Regions from separate parts of the Homo sapiens genome. Here regions 1 and 3 are each linked to region 2. Evidence: promoter capture Hi-C in human tissues and cell types (Jung and others, 2019). All regions are on one chromosome and are shown on one strand. The core of a region is centred on a gene start or on the middle of the fragment in contact, and the rest is flanking DNA. Distances in the headings are between cores, read along the strand shown.

The links. The method cuts DNA at HindIII sites, captures the fragments that hold promoters and counts their contacts. A contact is called where the count stands out against the background at its distance.
Region 1: a contact is called between a fragment that was not itself captured here and the fragment with the promoter of EIF4H in region 2, in 2 of the 25 tissues and cell types used here (dorsolateral prefrontal cortex and lymphoblastoid cells).
Region 3: a contact is called between a fragment that was not itself captured here and the fragment with the promoter of EIF4H in region 2, in 1 of the 25 tissues and cell types used here (IMR-90 fibroblasts).

The regions. Positions count from the first base shown.
Region 1 is chr7:74,584,275-74,587,325 of GRCh38, forward strand. All of the region lies in intron 22 of GTF2IRD1 (GTF2I repeat domain containing 1), which reads left to right. Among named protein-coding and RNA genes, the nearest start is that of MIR10525, 10 kb to the right of the region's middle. RefSeq lists an enhancer at 2,926-3,051. The HindIII fragment of the contact is 6,527 bases long and covers 1-3,051 here.
Region 2 is chr7:74,173,019-74,175,718 of GRCh38, forward strand. It overlaps EIF4H (eukaryotic translation initiation factor 4H), which reads left to right and starts at 1,338. Exons shown (of 7, transcript NM_022170.2): 1 at 1,338-1,424. The coding sequence starts at 1,366. RefSeq lists a silencer at 1,089-1,598 and enhancers at 1,101-1,395, 1,377-1,890, 1,891-2,403. The HindIII fragment of the contact is 15,155 bases long and covers 1-2,700 here.
Region 3 is chr7:73,847,540-73,850,317 of GRCh38, forward strand. No RefSeq gene overlaps it. Among named protein-coding and RNA genes, the nearest start is that of METTL27, 6.4 kb to the left of the region's middle. The HindIII fragment of the contact is 7,829 bases long and covers 1-2,778 here.

The DNA of each region.
Region 1 (3,051 bases), core at 339-2,838, 410 kb after region 2:
CTCTACTAAAAATACAAAAAATTAGCCAGGTGTGGTGGCGGGTACCTGTAATCCCAGCTACTCTGGAGGCTGAGGCACGAGAATCACTCGAACCCGGTAGGCGGAGGTTGCAGTGAGCCAAAATCATGCCACTGCACTCCAGCCTGGAAAACAGGGAGACTCTGTCTCGAAAAATAAAAAAATAAAGGGGGAAGAGGAATAGTTAATGATGTATTTATCCTGTGCTCAGTAAATCTGCCTTTTACATAAGATAAAGTAAATAGAGTAGAGGAAGTCATATAGGCATTTGTCTTGGGTAGACAGAGCAATGATTTCTATTCTTATCTTTGTCCCCTGCCTGTGAAGATAAGCTGTGAATTTACATGGCCAGGGTGAGGGAGGCCACCAGGGGAGCTAGGTGGCCTTCTATCTTGCAGCCATCTGTTTAGGAACAAAAGGCTATTGCGTGACTCAGTTCCCAAGCTTAACATTTCCCTTTGGCATAGTAAGTTTGGGGTCCCATGTTTTTTGTTTGTTTGGGTTTTTTGTGTGTTGTTGTTGTTTTGAGATGAAGTCTCGCTCTTGTCCCCCAGGCTGGAGTACGATGGCGCGATCTTGGCTCTCTGTAACCTCCGCCTCCCAGGTTTAAGCGATTCTCCTGCCTCCGCCCCCGGAGTAGCTGGGATTACAGGCACCTGCCACCACGCCTGGCTAAATTTTGTACTTTTAGTTGAGACGGGGTTTCACCACGTTGGACAGGCTGGTCTCGAACTTCTGAGCTCAGGTGATCCACCCACCTCGGCCTCCCAAAGTGCTGGGATTACAGATGTGAGCCACCGCGCCCAGCCTGTTTGGTGTTTTTTTTTTTTTTTTTTTTGAGACGGAGTCTTGCTCTGTCGCCTAGGCTGGAGTGCAGTGGCGCAATCTCAGCTCACTGCAACCTCCACCTCCCAGTTCAAGGGATTCTCCTGCTTCAGCCTCCTGAGTAACTGGGATTACAGGCATGCACCACCACGCCCAGCTAATTTTTTGTATTTTTAGTAGAGACGGGGTTTCACCATGTTGGCCAGGCTGGTCTGGAACTCCTGACCTCAAGTGATCCACCTGCCTCGGCCTCTGAGAGTGCTGGGATTATAGGCGTGAGTCACCGTGCCCGGTCTGGGCCTCGTCTTTGAGAGGCCTGCTAAGCTTCTTTCTGTCCTGCAGGTTTCGTAGAGCTCTGACTTTGAGTCTCGCTCTGTCCCGACACAGGAGAAGACAGAGGTGTGGCATTGTGGGCTGAGAGCAACAGATTAGAGGAAACTATCTTAAAGATTAAGCCTTCTTTCTACAGCTACTGTAGGGGAGCCTGGGCATGGTGGTTCACGTCTGTAATCCCAGCACTTTGGGAGGCCGAGGTGGGCGAATCACCTGAGGCCAGGAGTTGGAGACCAGCCTGAGTAACATGGTGAAACCCCATCTCTACTAAAAATACAAAAATCAGCCAGGTGTGATGGTGGGTGCCTGTAATCCCAGATACTCGAGAGGCTGAGGCAGGAGAATCACTTGAACCCAGCAGGCAGAGGTTGCAGTGAGCCAAGATCGCACCACTGCACTCCAGTCCAGCCTGGGTGACAGAGCAAGACTCTTCCAAAAAAAAAAAGAAAAAGAAAGAAACTGTAGAGGAATCTGAGACCTCAGGAAACCCAGGGCTCATGGTAGAGTGGAAAGACCAGGGCTTTGGGGTTGACACAGAGTACTCCTGGTGCTTAGAGGCTGTGTGACCTTGGGCAAGTTTCTTTACCTCTCTGAGCCTCTGTGTCTTTGGCTGCAGTGTCTAGGAAAGCATCTGCACACAGTGATGTGTGTGATCCAGGCCATCCTTTCTCTGTTCTGTGCATGCATGGCCATGCCTGCTGAGAATCCTGCCACCAAAGATTCCTCAGTGGCATGGGGACAGATGGAATGTGCTGTTGCTTCCCTGCAGGCTCTAGGAGCTGGTCCTTGGGCCCAGGACTCCATCACTGTTGTCTGCATGGATTTGGACAAGGGTGGCCTTGATTCTTCCCACATCCTAGTCCTGAAAGGAAGGCCCGTGTTGGGTCACAGGAGAAGACGAGGGTTCTAGGGGATGTGGAGCGTGGGGTCTTTGTGTGGCTGAATTAGAGGCATTACTCCACGAGATAGGGACACGGGAGGAGGACGTTGTCTGGAATGGCTGATGTTTGCAGTGTCTCTGGGCACGCAGGGGGGCTGGCGGGCCGTGCCTGAAGACAGATCAGCAACTCAGAGATGTGCAGAGATTGCTGAGTGTGGGTGTGGACGGACCAGGCCAGGGACCTGCAGGGTTTGGGAGGACCTGAGGTGGTGGGTGTTGGAGCCCTGGGAAAAGGAGGAACCAGGCCAAGCAGGTGCCCAGCCTCTGTCCTGTGGGAAGCTCCCTGCTCTTTGGGGCAACCCCCACATGGGGAACAGGGCCTCCATTCTGGCAGCTTGCGCACGGGAGGCCAAGCCACCCAGACGGGGTCAGCAGACTCTAAGCAGCACAGAGCACCACGCCAGGAGATGCAGTTCCCAAGGCAGCCTCCTAAACAGAAGTGAGCTCTTCCCAGAGTTTTCAAGATTAAAAGAGCCAGACACAGTGGCTCACAACTGTAATCCCAGCACTTTCGGAGGCTGCGGACAGGAGGATCGCTTGAGCTTAGGAGTTCGAGAACAGCCTGTGCAACAGAGAGAGACTCTCTCTACAAAAAATTTTAAAAAAACTTAGTCTGGCATGGTGATTCATGCCTGGAGCCCCAGCTACTTGAGAGGCTGAGTGGGGAGGATTGCTTGAGCCAAAGAGTTCAAGGCTGCAGTGAGCTATGATGGCACCACTGTACTCCAACCTGGGAAACAGGGTGAGACCCTGTCTCAAAAAACAGGAGTCAGGCTGGGCACAGTGGCTCACGCCTGTAATCCCAGCACTTTGGGAGACCGAGGCAGGCAGATCACCTGAGCTCAGGAGTTTGAGACCACCCTGGCCAATATGGCAAAACCCCATCTCTACTAAATATACAAAAATTAACCGGACGTTGTGGCAGGCGCCTGTAG
Region 2 (2,700 bases), core at 88-2,587:
CCAGCACTTTGGGAGGCCAAGGCGGGTGGATCTCAGTTCAAGACCAGCCTGGGCAACATGGTGAAACGCTGTCTCTACTAAAAATACAAAAATTAACTGGGTGTGGTGGTGCACGTCTGTCACCCCAGTTACTCGGGAGACAGAGGCAGGAGAATTGCTTGAACCGAGGAGGTGGAGGTTGCAGTGAGATGAGATTGCGCCACTGCACTCCAACCTGATTCTCCATCTCAAAAAAAAAAAAAAAAAAATGCAAATTAGGCGAGGTACTGCCCGCCTATAGTCCTAGCTACTCCAGAGGCTAAGGCGGCAGGATGGCATGAGCCCAAGAGGTCAAGGCTGCCGTGAGCTACCACTGTTCCACCGCAGTCCAGCCTGGGCGACAGAGCGAGACCCTGTCTCAACAACGAACCAATAAATACATAATAAAAAGTAATGGTTAAGCGGAAGATACCTAGGTACACATCACAACAAAATTCTATGAGGTTCTTTCAAAGTGTGCTTAGATAATTAAGGTTTGTCAACATCGTGGCATCCACAATTACTACCATCTCAATCACAAACCTGGAAATTTACCCGTGTAATTAATTCCCACTGCATAACCATGTTTTGTTATTGCTAGATGATGGAATCCACAACAGTATCCAATTCTTTTTCCAAGGCAACGACTTCTGCAAAAAACCGAGATGTGCAGTCTCTCTTGCTAAGTCACCGATCACCTATACTCTCTCCTCTCAAAACCCCCCAATACCCAGGCAGCGAGTAAGCCCTGGAAGGCAGGATTCGTGTCTGCATCCCACCGCCTCGCACCCCCTTCCGGGGCATCCTCATCGTGTGGCCAGCTCCTGCCTGGAGAAGGAGGTGGCCTTTACTTGGGTGTCACCCGGGGACCACTTGGGGGTCCAAGCGGGACAGGCCTCCGAGGTCCCCGCCATGTATGGAGGCCGAAAGGCAGCGTCCCAGGCGAACTGGAGAGGGAGTTCCCCCCAGCTCTCCAGGTCACCTCCCGCCGACGGACGGAAAGGCCGGCGCGCACGGGCGTGGTGCGGCGGGGATAGGAGGCAGCCACGGGCGCACCCCAGGGCCAGCACATAATGGGCCGCGTAGGCCGGGCAGGCGTCCAGCTGGGACGCCGCCGCACCACGTGGGCTGCAGAGCGCACGGGGCAGGCAGCTGCCGGTGGGCCCAGGGCCGGGCGCTGCGCGGCCAGCGTCCGTGCGTGCGTGCGCGCGCGCGCGTGCGCGTGCCTGCGTCCAAGGGATTTGCGATCAGGCGGCGCGGCGGACAGCCCCGGCGGCGGGGCGGGGGGAGTTATATTGCGGGGTCCTTCCTCGCTCACCCTGGTTCCTCTCGGAGCGGAGACGGCAAATGGCGGACTTCGACACCTACGACGATCGGGCCTACAGCAGCTTCGGCGGCGGCAGAGGGTGAGGCGGGCGTGCGCGGGCCCCGTCGGGGGCTGCGGGACCGGCGGAGTCGGGGCCGTCAGGGTGGCGGCCGTCCTGCGCTCAGCCGGGGCGGCGGGAGGCGGGGGCCCGCGGAGGCCTAGGAGCGGCGCCTGGAGGGCCGGGGCCTGGAAATGGCGCGCTCGGAGACGGGGCGGCGGCGGCTGGGCTCCCGGGGTCTTGCTTGCGGGGCGGATCCCTTCCACTGCCTCCCGCCAACGACAACGTGTTGGTTTTTGCCCTGCCTTGGCCGCGGCGGCGCCGATGCCCGGAGACGAGCGCCCGCTTCCAGCCCCATCCCCCCTACGGTAGGACCAGTGCGGGGCTGAGCTGTGGCGCTGGGGTACGGGCCACACGGCCTGCCCCGCTCCGGTCCCGGCCTCTTTCGCGGCCCTCTGTTGCCTGCCCGCCTTGCAGGCCCCTGGCCCCTTCGCCACGAGGCCGGCCGACTGGGGAAGGTCGGCAGCCAAGAGGGGCGATTCCCTTCCCCTTACGTGTGAGGCAGGGATTTGGCGGCTCTGGCCCGGGGATGGTACGACTCCTTGCGGGCGGGGGGAGACCAAGGAGATAAATCCATCGTAGCTTCTTTGTATTAATCTTTCTTGGGTCACAGTGCCTTGACAGGTGCTACGTGCTCTTTGGCACAATTTCATTTCTCCTTGGTTTCTCGCTCTGATCTGGAGAAGGAACCGCATTTAGCGTCGTCCTGATTGTTGTCAAATGCAGACAACTATGTATAATTGAAACACTTTGCTTAAAAGAAACATCTTTGAATAGAGAGCTCATGGTGTTTAATTCCAGGACTCTGCACTTTTTTTTATTTTATTTTTTAAATACAAGTTGCCTCGTTAGAATATAGGCTATGAACATCTTGCTGTTTGTCAAGGACACACTTGGGCTTTGTGTTTTCTTGCAGAAAGGATTACTTTCCCAGGATAACACCACAATAATACACACTGAGGTGTTCAGTCTCCTGGGTTGCAGTCCAAAAGTATCTTTGTTTGGTAAAGAATGATCACTTTTAATACCTTGGTTTGGGAACGGCTCAGACAAAAGCTTGTTTCGGGGCAGGAGTGTAGCTAATGTTCATGATACTGTAACGTGGAAGTGTGCCGGTGTAGGTGGAGCTATTGTCATTCCAAAGAACATTTTATTTGCTAATAAAAAAAGAAGTAAATGTTGGATGACATGAAATTATCGCCTTTGGGTTAGGTTTCTAAACATCAAATTTGTTCTCAAGTCATTTCGAAATTTAATA
Region 3 (2,778 bases), core at 41-2,540, 330 kb before region 2:
GGCTCAAGCAATCCTTCTGCCTCAGCCTCCTGGGTAGCTGGGACTCCAGGTGCTTGCCACCAAGCCTGGTTAATTAAAAAAAAAAAATTGTAGAGATGGGGTCTTGCTATGTTGCCTAGGCTGGTCTCCAATTCCTGGGCTCAAGCCATCCTCCCTCCTTGGCATTCAAAATGCTGGGATTACATGTGTGAGGAACCTACCTGGCCTTTCTCTTTCTTTCTATGGGAGGAGGGTATTTCCAGAAGCCACAGAAGCTGGGAAACTGTGATCTGGCACTTTGAGGCTCAGGTGTGGGGTGTGAGCTTTCCATCCAGGAAGGAGGGAGGGGAGAATGGCTTGTGGTACTGTTCCCAGACCAAACTGAGGGTCGGGCTGCTACTTCTTGTGGCCCAATAACGAGATGCACACAAACTGGGGAGGAAGAGAGTTTTTATTTCTGTAACCGTTTACAGGGAGAAGGCGTGGAAATTATCACCCGACTAACTCAAAGTTACAAAGTTTTCCAGAGCTTATACACCTTCTAAGCTATACGTCTATGTGTAAGTGTGCATTCATCTGAAGACATAAGTGATTAATTTCTTTTAATCCATGACTAAGGTCTGAGTCCCGAAGCTCTTCCTCTGGAACCTCAGTAAATTTACTTATCTAAATGGGTCCAGGTGCTGGGGTGATTCCTGTTATCTCCTGCTAAATCATGGAGGTTTGAGGAGTTCCTTCAGACCGCCAATAAATTTGTTTGTGGAGGCCTGGGGAGTTTCTTCAGACCCAAAATAAAACTTGCTTAATTCTAAATGGTCCTGTTAAGAATTCCTTCATTATTTTGTCGTGATTTAAGGCCCAGGAAAGGCCTGGGCAAAACTCTTGGTGGGCTTTTGTTACATCCCAGCCTTTGTATAAGGGCACTGGCTTTTAATATTTAAATTAACCACTCAGTCAGTACTGAAACAGTTGTTGGGGAGACCTGGCCTGCCACAGTGCGGGCTCCTGTGCTGCTCCTGGGGTGTGAGGGCGTGTGTTCCTTCATGTGCACCTGTGTGATGAGCGGGGAATGTTACAGGTGTCCATTTTGATGTGTGCAGGACCCAGGCCATGGAGAGCTTGGTCCCCAGGCTATGGACTCCCTCCCTTCCTTCCTTCCTTCCTTCTTTTCTTTTTCTTTCTTTCTTTTCTTTCCTTCCTTCCTTCTTTCTTTCTTTCTTTCTTTCTTTCTTTCTTTCTTTCTTTCTTTCTTTCTTTCTTTCCTTTCCTTTCCTTTCCTTTCCTTTCCTTTCCCTCCCTCCCTCCCTTTCTTCCTTCCTTTCTTCCTTCCTTCCTTTCTTGATGGAGTCTCACTCTGTTGCCCAGGCTGGAGTGTAGTGGTGCAATCTTGGCTCACTGCAACCTCTGCCTTCTGGGTTCAAGCAATTCTCCTGCCTCAGCCTCCCAAGTAGCTGGGACTACAGGCATGTGCCACCACGCCCAGCTAATTTTTTTTGTATTTTTAGTAGGGATGGGGTTTTGCCACGCTGGCCAGGCTGGTCTCAAACTCTTGACCTCAGGTGATCTGCCTGCCTCGGCCTCCCAAAGTGCTGGGATTACAGGCATGAGCCACCACGCCTGGTCTATGGACGTGCTTTCTAACCCTGAATGTGTAATGGGGAGTTGTGGCTTCAGATTTGCATTTTACCAAGATGGCTCCAGAAGGCGGCAGGGAGAGCCAGCTGGGTGAACCGCAAGTTCCGAGGCTGTTGCAGTTACTTGGCAAGAGCTGGAGTGTCAAGAGTCAGGGGCTGCTGAGGAGGGGGTGACCTTGGTGCTGATGGGGTGTGGGGGCTGTTGAGGACCAGATGGCAACTTCCCTTCCTTGGAGTTTTCTTCCTACCTCATCTTCTTCACCGCCTCCTCCTTGCTCTTCTCCTACCTCTAAGCTTAGGAGAGGCCCCCGGCTCTGTCCTGGGTCTTCTTCCTTCTCTGTGTACACCCACTTCCTAGGTGATCTCATCTAGTCCCGTGGTTTTAAATACTGTTTATTTGTGGGTGACTCCCAAATTGATGACTTCTAGTCTTGGCTCTCCCCTGAACTCTGGACTTGTTCACCCAGCCATGAAACTGACATCTCCTTGGAGGCCACAGGTCTGGCAACGAGCCCAGACCCGAGAGTGATTCTTTCCACTCCCAAATCTGCTCCTCTTCAGGGCCCGTCTCTGCAAATGCCCCTGAACCACCTTGCACTCAGGGGCTCAGCTCAAGCTGTTTTTCTCCCATCTCGCACCCTGTTCATCAGCAAATCCTGTGGACTCAAACTACACCAGCCAGGTGCGGTGGCTCACACCTGTAATCCCAGTACTTTGGGAGGCCAAGGTGGGTGGATCACTTGAGATCAGGAGTTCAAGACCAGCCTGGCCAACATGGCAAAACCCTGTCTCTACTAAAAGTACAAAAATTATCCAGGGATGGTGGTGCATGCCTGTAATCCCACCTACTTGGGAGGCTGAGGCAGGAGAATCACTTGAACCGGGGAGGCAGAGGTTGCAGTGAGCCAAGATCACGCCATTGCACTTCAGCCTGGGCAACACAGCAAGACTCTGTCTGAAAAAACTAAAAGAAAAAAAAGAAGAAGAAAATCTCAAACACACACAAAAGAAGAGACTAGTGTAATAACTCCCCATGTATTTCTTCATGAGCGTTTCAATAGTTAACAAACTGAGCCCAGCCAGAGTGGCGTTTTTACAGTATCCATCTGATGAGTTTACGCCCCTGCTTAAAACCTAAAATCCAGCTTCTTTCCTCTCCTTATCT